Linked DNA regions of Homo sapiens: region 1 is linked to region 2. Evidence: promoter capture Hi-C in human tissues and cell types (Jung and others, 2019). All regions are on one chromosome and are shown on one strand. Each heading gives the region's core, a stretch centred on a gene start or on the middle of the fragment in contact. The rest is flanking DNA. Distances are from core to core; before and after follow the strand shown. Region 1 has its middle 33 kb from the start of OLIG3. Region 2 holds the start of IL20RA (interleukin 20 receptor subunit alpha).

Region 1 (7,137 bases), core at 1,892-4,391, 480 kb after region 2:
GTGGTGCGATCACGGCTTACAACAGCCTCTAACTCCTGGGGACAAGTGCACACCACCATGCCCAGCTAATTTTTTTAAATTTTGTGGAGACAAGGTCTCACCATGTTGCCTGGACTGGTTGAACTCCTGGGCTCAGGGGATACTTCTGTCTCAAAGTGCTGGGATTACAGGTGTGAGCCTTCTGCCCAGCCACATTTTAGCCCTTTTTTTTTTTGAGACAGAGTTTTGCTCTCTTGCCCAGGCTGGAGTGCAATGGCGTGATCTCGGCTTACCGCAACCTCTGCCTCCCGGGTTTAAACGATTCTCCTGTCTCAGCCTCCTGGGTAGCTGGGATTACAGGCATGTGCCACCGCGCCTGGCTAATTTTGTATTTTTAGTAGAGACGGGGTTTCTCCATGTTGATCAGGCTCGTCTCGAACTCCTGATCTCAGGTGATCCACCCGCCTCGGCCTCCCAAAGTGCTGGGATTACAGGGGTGAGCCACTGTTCCTGGCCATTTTAGCCATTTTTAAGTGGCATGTTTACATGGCATGAAACTTACCACTTTAACCATTTTTAAATGTACAGCTCAATGGTATTAAGTACATTCATATCATTGTAGAACTATCACCACTATTTATCTCCAGAACTTTTTCATCTTCCTCATCTGAAACTCTGTCTCCATTAAACAATTTCTTGGCTGGGCATGGCAGCTCATGCTGTAATCCCAGCACTCTGGTAGGCCAAGGCCAGTGGATTACCTGAGGTCAGGAGTTCGAGACCAGCCTGGCCAACATCGTGAAACCCCATCTCTACTAAAAATACAAAACATTAGCTGGGTGTGGTGGTGGACACCTGTAACCCCAGCTACTTGGGAGGCTGAGGCAGGAGAATTGCTTGAACTGGGGAGGCAGAAGTTGCAGTGAGCTGAGATCATGCCATTGCACTCCAGCCTGGGCAACAAGAGTGAAACTCTGTCTAAAAAATAATAATAATAATTCTTGTTCCCCCCTCCCCCCAGCTCCTGGCAACCACCATTCTACCTTCTATATCTATTGAAGGGGCAGAAAAGTGTGGTACCTTTTCTCACCCATCATAAGAGTCACCGTCAACACTCCTGTAACAAAAGATAGGTTAACAAGAGAAAAGTACAACAAATTTATTTAATCAAAGTTTTATGTGACATGAGAAACATCAGAAATGAAGACCCAAAGATCCAGGAAAAACTGCCTATTTTTATGCTTAGGATCAATGAAGAATGAACAGCCATGTAGAAATGTCACTGGACCAAAGGGTATGATCTAATGGTGATAGGCTGAGGGGGAAACCCAGCAAGGCCTGCCTGTTCAGATTCTTCTTGGTCTCTCTGTGTAGTCTGCCTTCATCCTGGGCTTGGGTAGGACCCCTGTGGAATGAAGGTCTTTAAGAGAGAGTGACCTTTCTAGGTTATGGCTTGCTTGGGGGAAAAGAGGTTCTAGTTTCTATGACCCACCTTGGGAAAGAGGAATTCTGGTTTCTATGACTCACTTTATGGGAGAAAGAGAGGCGAGAAACAGGAGGATGGGAGAGGGTCAGAGAGACTGTTTCTGAGACCTTTCAACCTCCTTTTGTTCAAAGCATTCAGCATGCCAAGGTGCCATACTTTGGGGTATCATGCTCTAGCCCCAACATTATAAACTTGACTACTCTAGATACCTTAAATAAGTAGAATTATACAATATTTATCCTTTTCTGACTGGCTAATTTCACTTAGCACAATGTCCTCAGGGTTTATCCATGTTGTAGTGTATGTCAGAATTTCCTTCCCTTTTAAGGCTCAAAAGTATTTATCTATATGTGATATGGCTTGGCTCTGTGTCTCCAACCAAATCTCAGATTGAATTGTAATCTTTAATGTTGTGGGAAGGACCTGGTGGGAGGGACCTGGTGGTGGAAGGACCTGGGATCATGGGGGCTGAGTTCCCCCTTGCTGATCTCTTGAATGAGTTCTGGTTGTTTAAAAGTGTGTAGCACCTCCTTCTTCACTCTCTCTCTCCTACTGGTCATTTGAAGATATGCTTGCTTCCCCTTCATATTCCACCTTGATTGTAAATTTCCTGAGGCCTCCCCAGCCATGCTTGCTGTGCAGACTGCAGAACTGTGAGCCAATTAAGCCTCTTTATAAATTACCCAGCCTCAGATAGTTCTTTATAGCAGCATTATAATGGACTAATATAGTATTTATGTACCAGATTTTGTTTATTCGTTGATCTATTAATGGACAATAGGGTTGCTTCCATCTTTTGATTCTTGTGAATTATGCTGCTATAAACATGGATGCACAAATATCTCTTTGAGTTTATACTTTCTTTTCTTCTGGGTATATATCCAGAGGGGAATTGCTAGATCATACCATAATTCTATGTTTAATCTTTTGTGGTACTAAAATACTGTTTTTCACAGTGGTCTCACATTCTGACCAGCAATGTACAAGGGTTCCAATTTCTCCTTATTCTTGCCAACACTTTTTTGAAGCTAACCATCCTAATAGGTGTGAATGGTATCTCACTGTGGTTTTAATATGCGTTTCCCATAAAGAAAATATGGCACATATACACTATGGAATACTATGTAGTCATCAAAAATCATGTCCTTTGCAGGGACATGGATAAAGCGGGAAGCCATCATTCTCAGCAAACTAACACAGGAACAGAAAACAATACACCACATGTTCTCACTCATAAGTGGGAGTTGAACAATGAGAACACATGGACACAGGGAGGGGAACATCACACACCAGGGCCTCTTGGGGGGTGGGGCGCAAGGGGAGCAAGAGCATTAGGACAAATACCTAATGCTTGTAGGGCTTAAAAACCTAGATGACAGGTTGATAGGTGCAGCAAACCACCATGGCACATGTATACAATGTAACAAAGCTGCACGTTCTGTGCATGTATCCCAGAACCTAAGGTAAAATTTAAAAAAGAAAAAAATGCGTTTGCCAGATAATTGGTGATGTTGAGTATCTTTTCATGTATTTATTGGCCATCTATATATCTTCTTTGGAGAAATATCTATTCAAGTCCTTTGTCCATTTTTGAATTGAGTTGTTTTTCTTTTGTTAAGTTATAGGAGTTCCTTAAATATTCTGAATATTAACCCCTTCTTAGATACGTAATTTGCATATGACTTCTCCCATTTCATGGGTTTCCTTTTCATTCTGTTGATACTGTCTTTTGATACACAAAATATTTTAATTTTGATGAAGTCCAATTTTTCTAGTTTTCTTTTATTGTCTCTGCTTTTGATGTCATATCCAAGAAATAATTACCAAATTCACTGTCATAAAGCTTTCCCCCTATATTTTCTTTTAAGAGTTTTATAGTTTAGCACTTACATTTAGATCTTTGATTTATTTTGAGTTAATTTTTCTATGTGGTATAAGGTAAGGGTCCAACTTCATTTTTTTTTTTATTTGGCAGGGGGACAGGGGCATGTAGATATCCAGTTTTCCCAATACCAGTTTTGAAGACTATTCTTTTTCTATTGAATGACCTTGGCACCCTTGTCAAAAATTATTCAGCCATATATACAAGGGTTTATTTCTGGGATTTCTATCCTATTACATTGGTCTATATGTCTGTCTTTATGCCAGTACCACATTGTTTTGATAACCATAGCTTTGTAGTAAGTTTTGAACTCAGAAAGTGTGAAATCTCTGTTTTTTTTTTTCTAGATAGTTTTGACTATTTGAGATCCCTTGAGATTCCACATGAATTTTAGATTGGATTTTTCTATTTTTTACAGAAAACATAATTGGGATTTTGATAAGGATTGCATTGAATTTTTAGATCATTTTGGGTAGTAGTGACAACAATATTTCTTCCAATCTATGAACATGGAATGTCTTTCCATTTATTGGTACCTTCGTTTTCTTTCAGCAATATTCTGTAGTTGCACAAGTCTCACCTCCTTGTTAAATTTATTGCTAAGTATTTAATTCTTTTTATACTAACATAAATGGAATTTTCTTAATCTCTCTTTTAGGATATTCATCTAATTTAGTTTTTAATCAGGAAAAATATAGAACTTTTACCAAATTCCCACCTGAATCTCATCCCAAAGAAATTGGTACAATGAAGTGTGTAGAGGCTGACCAGAAACTACTTCCCAACTCCTGCTTTCCCAGCCAGGGAAAGCCATGACCTGCTTTCCCAGGTCATGCCCTGCTCTTCCTGGCAGGAAGCCACTAGTGGAAATACAAAGTCCAATGGAATCTTTCGTTCTTTCTCTCTCTTTCTTTCTTTCTTTCTTTCTTTCTTTCTTTCTTTCTTTCTTTCTCTTTCTTTCTCTTTCTTTCTTTTTCTTTCTTTCTTTCTCTTTCTTTCTCTCTCTCTTTCTTTCCTCTCTCTTTCCTTCTTTCTTTCTTTTTTTCTTTCTCTCTCTGTCTCTCTCTCTTTCTTTCTCTCTTGCTCTCTTTCGACAGAGCTTCATGCTGTCTCCCAGGCTGGAGTGCAGTCACATAATCTCAGATCACTGCAACCTCTGCCTCCCAGGTTTAAGCCACCTTCCCAAGTAGCTGAGACTACGGGCATGTGTGTGCCACCATGCCCAGCTAATTTTTGTATTTTTAGTAAAGACAGGGTTTTGCCATGTTGGCCAGGCTGGACTTAAGTGATTCACCCACCTTGGCCTCCATTACAGGTGTGAGCCACTCACTGTGCCTTGCCCTGGAATTTTTTTCAAGTATGACAATATTAAGATATCATTGTTATGTCAGAAAGCAGTTTTTATTTACACCATTTAATAGGTTAGAAATCCACCATTAATCTTGAAAATGAAACATTCTGAAGTCAGGAAGTTTCCAAGTAACGTTTTCGAAGAAAACTGATTTACCTACCCAAATATTTCGATGAATGCTAATATAACTTGCAAATAAGTATAAAAATAAGTAGCTCACTGATTTCATACTTCCATTTGAAAGCTATTAGTCACATAAACGGCATCTTTTTTCTAGATTTTTTAGGGGGAGGGTGTCATATAATGTATACAGATTTCATACACCACATTAAGGCAATAATTTCCCCCTCTCAAGAAAACAAGAACATTTCATGACATGCAGAATAAGAGGATGTGTGTGATGTGTGTGTGTTTTGCAGAAAGACATTTTCTTCTATTTTGTAGATAGTGACATAACCTAGTCATACCAACTCTCGCTAAATTTAAATATTAGATGAAAAATGAATCAGTCAAGCATTTTTGTCTTTGGTTTATTGATAATACTTTATATGTTTACACTCTCACATTTTCCCTTTTATGAGATAACATGCTTTCTTTAAAAAAATTTTTTACAAGTGTTCTTCTTTAAAAGAGGCTATAGAAACAGATTTTAGTAGTACTACGTGCTAAATAATTTTATAAAACTCCAGATAGATATACATTATCCTAAAGATACAACCTTGTTGACTTGACACTACAAAGGAAACAAAAAACAAAAACACACAAAGAAAACTCAGCAAACAGGAACAGAGAAAGAGTTTGGTTTCTCTGGTCGCCCAAGAATTAAGTTCCATAAGTTATAGAATGATACAACTCATTTTGTTTTTTTAATTTTAATTTGAAAAGAAAATGTATTAAAGTGAAAAGTTTGGTTCCACATTAGTCCGTGGCACATGTGCTTTTTAGTATCCTCACTTCTAAAGTGAGTATTAACACTTTCTGGCTGCCGTAGTAGTAGTGTACCTCAAGGTACTTTATTTCCATCTTTTAGAAAATTATTGTGATATATATTTTATTAGAAAAAACACTTTAGTGCTATTTGATAGAAAAATATAATAATAAATATACAAATGAGCGTGTCTATAATGTAATCAGGGTCCTCTTTAATGTGTTGCTCTGTGCAGCATACAGCCTGAACAACTGTACTAAGATAGCTCTATTCTTTGTTTGTTTGTTGTCTTAGGGCAAAAATCTTGGAATCATCCATGACATTTTTCATTCTTTCATGTCCTAAATGGGACCTATTGTTAGATCCTGTTTGTTGTTATTTCAAAAATACCCAGGATCCAACTACATCTTAACACCTGTATAGCTACCATTCTGTTCTAAGCCCCCATCATTTGGATTGGGAGTCTGCAAACTATATAGCCAGGGCCATAGGAGAGACAAGTCTGGCGACACCCATTTGTTTACTTATTGTCTGTGGCTGCTTTCCTGCTACAATGGAAGAGTTGAGTATTTGTCACAGCAACCACATGGTTTGCAAAGCCAAAAATATTTACTAGCTGGCTCTTTAAAGAAAAGGTTTGCTGACCTCTGACCTAGACTATTGCAGTGGCTTCATAAATTTGTCTTCTTGCTTCCACTCCTGCTCCTTTAATAGAGCAGCTGGAAACAGGTCATGGTATTCCTCTGTGCAACCCTCAGTGGCTTCTCAGAGTAAAAGGCAAGGTCCTTAACCAGTATCCCTCCCATCACTAGTAGAGCTGATTGCCTGATACCTCCCAGCTCATTCTCTCCCACTCTCCTCTTGCTAATTCTGCTCCCCATGGCAGTTCTTGGAAACATGTCTAGCATGTTCCCTCTTCACCTGCTGTTTCCTCCACCAGGAGTGCTCTTCCTCCCAGGTGGCTGCATGGCCCAGTCTCTTCCAAAGTCACCTTGCAGAGAGGCCTTCCCTGAAAACTCTTCACGAAGCAGCACTTTACTCCATCTTCTCCATCCATCTCCTCTGCTTCACTTTTTTTTTTTTCAATTAAATTTAATTTTATTTTATGTTCTGGGATACATGTGCAGGATATGCAGGTTTGTTACATAGGTAAACCTGTGCCATGGTGGTTTGCTATCAATCCATCACCTAGATAGTAAACCCAGCATGCATTAGCAATTTATTCTGATGCTCTCCCACCCCCCATTCCCCTGACAGACCCCAGTGTGTATTGTCCCCCTCCCTGTGTCCATGCATTCTCATCATTCAGCTCCCACTTACAAGTGAGAACATGTGGTGTTTGGTTTTCTGTTCCTGTGTTAGTTTTCCGAGGATAATGGCTTCTAGCTCCATCCATGTCCCTGCAAAGGACATGATCTCATTACTTTTTATGGCTGCATGGTATTCCACAATGTATATGTACCACATTTTGTTTATCCAATCTATCATTGATGGGCATGTGGGTTGATTCC
Region 2 (6,818 bases), core at 376-2,875:
ATCCTCCTGCCTATGTCTCTGTCTCTCAAAGTGTTAGGATTACAGGTGTGAGCCACAGCGCCCAGCTTCTCTCTTCGATTAAAAATAAAAACAAATTTCTGTCTGTTAGTTGAAGGCTCAATATTTGCACGTCAGTCGTTTCTTCCCATTCAGTCTACCCGGGAATATTAAAAGGAAAAATAACTATAATTTCTGATAAATTTAAAAGATAAAATATTTTATGTATAATAGCTATCGTTCAAAATCTCTCCAAGATCTGTGTGCATACTTTTCTTATTGTTGTAACTATATTGAATTTAACTTTTTCTTTAACTACCAAGGACTCCAGATTCACCGTCAACTTTCTTCCTGCATTCACTCTTACTGTTCAGTTCTGGGTTAAAAGACAGCGGGGCCTGAACGAAGTGTCTACAAAGCACAGTATTTGGAGAAGCTTTGTTGTTGTTTTTTAAAATAATTTTTTTAAAAAGGGATCCCGGATATCTTTTTTGTTTTTTTAAAAAATCTTTTTCTCATGTACGAGAAATACAGGGAAAAAAAGCAATCAGGTTAATGAATCATTCTGGTTTACTGGATTCCAATTGGTAGAGAATTTAAACTTAAAAACCAAACAAAACGAAAGAGCTCTTCAGTTACCTTATGTCGTAAACGAGTTAAAAGTTTTGTTATTTCTGAAAAATCAAAGAGCACTATCTGTACATGGTCATAACTGCAAAGGAAACAACGGCGTACCCAGGACAGGGGGAGCTTACTTTAAGAAGCTGCGTCTTTCTGGATCATGTTCCTTCGGGGCTGACCCTTTCGGGGAGTTTGGCTTTTAAAGCGCGGATCTCGCGACGCGCGGCTTGCAGGACTGCGGGGCCCGGCGGCCGAGACGCGGCATCCACAGGGGCCCCTCCGCGCGGCCGCGGCGGTGGTGGCGGGAACCTGGGACTGGCCGGCGAGGGGCCCCGCATGGTAACCGTCCCCGACCGCAAGTCATAGGCTGTGGGCACCGCGCAGAGCGCACCCCCCACCGAACTCCCCCCACCCCACCTCAATTCTCGAGACCGAAAGTGCGGAGCGCGGAGTCCTGCAAACTTGACCCCGAGCCAAGGTGCGCGAGGCGACGGCGAGTGTCCCCCGGGCTCCCTGCAGCCCCGGGGCTGGAAGCTCCGGCCTCCGCGCACCTCGTCCTCTGCCCGCCCGAAAGCGAAACCTGGCCGGCGGGCAGGAGGGGAGAGCTCGGCCTCGAGCTCTGCCTGGCGGGGCCCCGGCCTGGAGGCATCCCCGACCCGCACCTGGCGGCGCGACCCACCTACCTGCCCGTCCCCAAGGCGCCGCCAGGAGCAACAGCAGCAGCGGCGGCAGCGGCAGCGGCCGCAGGGCCGGGCGGCCGGGAGCCCGCATGGGCGGCGGGGCTGGGTCACATGTCGGGGGGCAGCAGACTGCTCAGTCCCACGCCCGCTGGGGCCAAGCGCGGCCGCGCGGCCTCAGCTCCGCGCCTGGGGCTCTGCGTGCCACGCTCCAGGCGACCTGAGTCCCAGGGCGCCTCCGCCACAGCCGCGTCCCCCAGGCTTCCCCAGAAACCAAGGGCGAGCGACTCGCGGAGCCCCCACGCGCGCTCCCCCGGCTACCCAGCTGGATGGCAGCGCGAGGGCAGTTCTCGCGGATTTATAGTCCCCAGCCACTCGGCTGTCAGTCCTGAGAGTCTGAGAGTTTCCACCTCTCGGGGTTCATGCCCAGACCAACCAGGTCACTAGGCAGGTAAAACCTCCTTCTGGTAATGAGCGAGGCGAGTGCATTGCAAAGAGATTCTGGTATTCAGGCCGGTCTGATGGTCAGTTAAAGTTCAATATCGGAAGACGGATGAAATAGAGCGTTATTTCTCGATATACAGTTAGGCACTCAGCCGTAGATCTTACAGTCATGCATCATTTAAGATGACAGGATTACCTCCTGAGAAATGTCTTAGGCGAGTTTCTTGTGTGAACATCTTAGAGTGTACTCACACCTATATGGTATAGCCTCTTACACGCCTACGCTATATGGTACAGGCTGTTGTTTGCTCCTAGGCTACAAACCTGTACGGCAAGTGACCATACTGAATACTGCAAGCAATTGTAACACAATGGTAAATATTTGTGTATCTAAACATGTCTGAACGTAGAAAAGGTACAGCAAAAGTACAGTATGAAAGATTTTAAAAATGGTACACCTGTATAGGGCACTTTCCATGAATGGAGCTTGCAGGACTGGAAGTCGCTCTGGCTGAGTCTGTGAGTGGTGAGTCAATGTGAAGGCCTAGGACATCACTGTGTACTACTATAGGCTGTATAAACACTGTATTACACTTAGGCTATGCTAAATTTATTAAAAAATTATTTCTTCAATAATAATAAATTAACCTTAGCTTACTATGATTTTTTACTTTCTACTTTTAAATCTTTTAAACTTTATTTATTTATTTATTTTTGAGATGGAGCATTGCTCTGTAGCCCAGGCTGGAGTGCAGTGGTGCGATCTCGGCTCACTGCAACCTCTGCCTTCCGGTTTTGATGATTGTCCTGTCTCACCCTCCAGAGTAGCTGGGATTACATGTGTGTGCCCCCACGCCCGGCTAATTTGTTTGTATTTTTAGTACAGACTGGGTTTCGCCATGTTGGCCAGGCCGGTCTCGAGCTCCTGACCTCCGGTGATCTACCCTCCTTGGCCTCCCAAAGTGCTGGGATTACAGGCGTGAACCACGACACCCGACCTAAACTTTTTGACTTGTAATAACGTTTGACTTAAAACACAAACACATTGTGCAGCAGTATGAAAATATTTTTTCTTTGTATTCTTTCTATAAGCTTTTTCTATTTTTAAATTTTTCTTTTTCTTTATTTTTTCTTTACTTTTTAAACTTTTTTGTTATAAACTAAGGCACAACCACACACATTAGCCTAGGCCTGCACAGGGTCAGGATTGTCAGTGCCACTGATGCCACCTCACATCCTGTCCTCCTGGAAGGTCTTTAGAGACAATAGGAATTTTTTCAGCTCTATTATAATCGTATGAGACCACCTTTGTATATGCAGTCTGTCACTGACTGAAAAGTTGTTATTTGATTTCATTCAACTCTCACAACCTGCAGTTAGGTCCTGGCCCTTTTTTCAGATGAGGCAAGGGAAACTCAGAAAGTCTAGGAATCATCATGAAGTCCCCCAAACCTGTGAGTGGCCTGTGACCAGTGGTGTGTGGACTTCCACACAAGGCGGTGGGTCCTAGGTTCCATGCTCTTTATAATGGGAGGGGGGAAGGGTGCAATTAAGAGGTGAGTCTTGAAATACTATATGAAAAATCTGAGAGAGGCTCTCAGCTTTGTACCTTTCTAGGTGGTTCTAAAGGTTGGGCACAGCCTGAAGATAGATACACGATTTACCTCAGATGTGTTCCATCTCTTTTGCCCTTAAATGTCTGTTTTCAAATGCTCCAATAAAGGGAAACGACACTCAAATTAGAGCAACTATTGTTTTCTTTTTCTTTTTCTTTTTCTTTTTAAAGGGGGTCTTCAGTATTAAAAAAGATCTTTTTTGGTGAGGAGGGAGTAAGGAGATAGAAGATGGGGCAGGATTTTCTGAGTCGCCTAAGTATGCTACTTTTTCCTTCCTGAAAGACTTGGAAACAGAGGAGGAATCTGGGTCAGAGGGCCCCTTAGGCTGGGATGTTAGCTTCGTGGTGCTGACGTGAGGCCTCTTCAAACCACTTTTCTTGTTTGTTAGCTGGTTCTTTTCCTTTCCACCAAAAGGGGCCCTGAAGGAATCCTGAAAGCTGGATGAGGAAAGAAGGGACTTGCTTCCTATTTGTTTGCTGTTCTTGTCACTAAGGCCCCACAGTGCCTCTTTACCCTGGCAGGGACAGCTAGTTCTAGGAGCAATTGTTTCTAGTTCCCAGCTTCTTCCTGTACTCCCAGAATCAGCTTCACTGCATCTCCTGAGAAATACCAGCACTGAGTAGGCTATGCCCCATTCTCAGAGGTCTGAGTCCCAGTTTCCTGGAGGCTTCGCTTCTGGGATCTGAACCCCACGTCTGCCCTGTGTTCCTTTAACCCTGACGGTGGTAGTTGCTTCTAGTAGTCACTCTGTCTCTTTCAATCTCAGTATTCCTGCTTTACTTTTTTAGTACTCCAACATCTGTTTAACCAATTCCTTACAGCAAATTCTTTCTGTTGAAATAACTAGTGTGGTTTCTGTTTTCCCAACTGGACTCTTATTGATTCCATTGTAATCCCAGAACGTTTTAGGAAGGACTCTGTGTGATCAGTACATTATCAATATTATCTTGAGTTGCTGTTGTTCTTACTTTTTGATTATAAATTGTATTAGTTTACTTTCATCATTATCATCTTAAGTCTTGTGGGTTAAATAGGGTAAATATTTGCTACAAAAGTGTTTGGGGCCAATCATTTTTGGATATCTAAATTTTGTATGCATTTCTATTCAAATATGAATCGTTCAGACCCTTCAAGAGGCTAAAGCAGACCTATACAAAGCCTTCCCTTATCTCCTAAGTCTTCTGAACTTGAACAGTGACATTTCATTATTTCACCAAGTTTTTCCTCCAGCTGGAAAGTGGGAACGGGGTAGGGGATGGAGTAACTGCGACTTGGAGTTTCTTCCCCCATGAGTGGGCTGTCAATTGTCTGAGAACAAACAGTTTTCTGCATGCCTCTCGTCCCCTCTCTCCTTTCCTCTTCAAGTTCCCCTTGGCACTTGTCAGAAGGCAGTCAAAATTTTACCTCTAAGGCTTGTCTTTTACGTGTTCACAAACTCACCACTCTGTCCTCAGAATGGCTAGGGTTCTACAGGATGAGTGTGACCTGAGAACTTGCCATGTATTCAGTTGATGTTTCCCATGCATTGAAATAAAGAGTGGAGTCAGTTTTTCTTTTGTTTGCATCTGTGACCCAGAACTCACCTTAGTGAGTTTCCTTAGTATCTTCAAATCTAACCTCTTACCCCCCTCTGCTAACTTTGGGAAGCAGCAGTCTTGGTTCCTCCCCATCTAAGCCTCCCAGGCAATATAATCTTCAGTGTGTTCTTCAGAGACTTTTGAAATGATGTTTTCGAATTGAGGTTTTCTTCTACTTCTCAACTTTGCAACTCCTCTTGCCATGATTTACCACATTGAGATCTTAATTTTGTGGAACCTGATGTATAGGATTTCCAGGCTTCCCGATGAAAAAGGCCATAAACCACTACTCCTTACCTCCCACCCCAAACACTAATACCACAGGCAAAAAATAATTTTTTTCTATCCTAGTTTAATTACTAAATAGTTTCCAAGGATAATACATACTAATAATACGAAGTTACTGAATTCTTTCTTTGAGTCAGATCCTACCTAAGAAATTTAAATTTCCTAACTACCTCCTTCAATCCTTACAACAATTCTGAGAGTTAGTTACATTACCCCAAGTTTCAAAACAAGGAGACAGACTTGGACAGGTCATTCGTTTAATAAGCAACAGAAACTGGAAACTGAATGCTGGTTCATCTATTTTCAAAGTTTGTGCTTTTAATAATTTCCTTATATGCCTCTTACACTTGAGAAAATGTTATGATTTACCTTTTATAATTAGGTCTACAATACATTGAGCTAATTTTTGTATATGAGGAAAGAGTAAAGATTAATTTTTTTCCATATAGATATCTTACTGGTTTTTGAGGTCTGAACTGTAAAACAGCATGAATATAATTGCTAAAGGCCTAATATTCAGCATATGTAATGAATTGCTTCAAACAAATTAAAAACAAAATAAAAAGACAATCTAATATTGAGTTTATATAGGTTACACACCACTTAGTTGCCACTGTCTTCTTCTGAGAGAGGAAGAAAAACCCTAGCTCCCTAATGTCAACAGATTTCTTGGAAAGTAAATTAATTCTCTCAGGAAGGCAAAGGGGAAAGTACCTACCCTGGAATATAAACATTTGGCTATGGTGGGGAGATAAATTTTATTACTCTCTGAATGAGACCAGATGGCTCCAGATCTAACACCCTTGCAATGTGAGGAGCAAATGATTCTGTGGAAGAGGAGACAGTCTATGGCATGCCAATTTTCTTTGCTCAGGGAGACAAACCATCCAGAAACGTGAAAATATTCATGTTTCCCTGACGTCTCATTATTTGAATATACTCCATTTGATTGCCCATTCTCCGGTTGATAGACATTTGGGTTGTTTCATTATTGAGTTGTAGGTGTCCTTTATGTATTCTGGGTACAAGTTCTTTGTCAGATATGTGCGTTGCGAATATTTTTGCCCACTTCATCACTTGCCTTTTCATTTTTACAATGATGTCTGCAAGAGCAAAAGTTTTTAATATTGATACAGTCAAGTTTTTCACTTTTTTTCGTTATGATTGTGGTGTCTCGTCTAAGAAGTCTTTGTGTATCCCAAGGTTGAAAGAAAGATGGCTTTTCCTAGAAATGTTATAGTTTTAGCTTTTATAATTAGGTCTGCAATACATTGAGCTAATTTTTGTATATGGTATGAGAAAAGAGTAGAGATTTTTTTTCCAAATAGATGTCTTACTGTTTTTGTACTATTTGTTAAAAAGACTTTCGTTCCACATTAAATTGCTTTAGCCATTATTGTTGAAAATCTATTGAAGATATATGTATTGGGTCATTTTTAGATGTCTACTCTTTGGTCTGTTTGTCCATTTTGCATCAATACCATGTTTTAACAAAAGGAGCTTTTTAGTTTTTTAATGTTGTACTTGTATACCGAAAAGTTTCAAAGGCAGTAGTGCAGAGTTTCTGTACACTCCTCACACAGTTGCATCACCGTGGT

What was found. The method cuts DNA at HindIII sites, captures the fragments that hold promoters and counts their contacts. A contact is called where the count stands out against the background at its distance.
Region 1: a fragment that was not itself captured here is called in contact with the fragment with the promoter of IL20RA in region 2 in 1 of the 25 tissues and cell types used here (hippocampus).

What each region holds. Positions count from the first base shown.
Region 1 is chr6:137,524,051-137,531,187 of GRCh38, forward strand. No RefSeq gene overlaps it. Among named protein-coding and RNA genes, the nearest start is that of OLIG3, 33 kb to the left of the region's middle. The HindIII fragment of the contact is 5,378 bases long and covers 453-5,830 here.
Region 2 is chr6:137,043,340-137,050,157 of GRCh38, forward strand. It overlaps IL20RA (interleukin 20 receptor subunit alpha), which reads right to left and starts at 1,626. Exons shown (of 7, transcript NM_014432.4): 1 at 1,302-1,626. The coding sequence starts at 1,389. RefSeq lists silencers at 1,119-1,168, 1,239-1,348, 1,379-1,438. The HindIII fragment of the contact is 8,751 bases long and covers 1-6,818 here.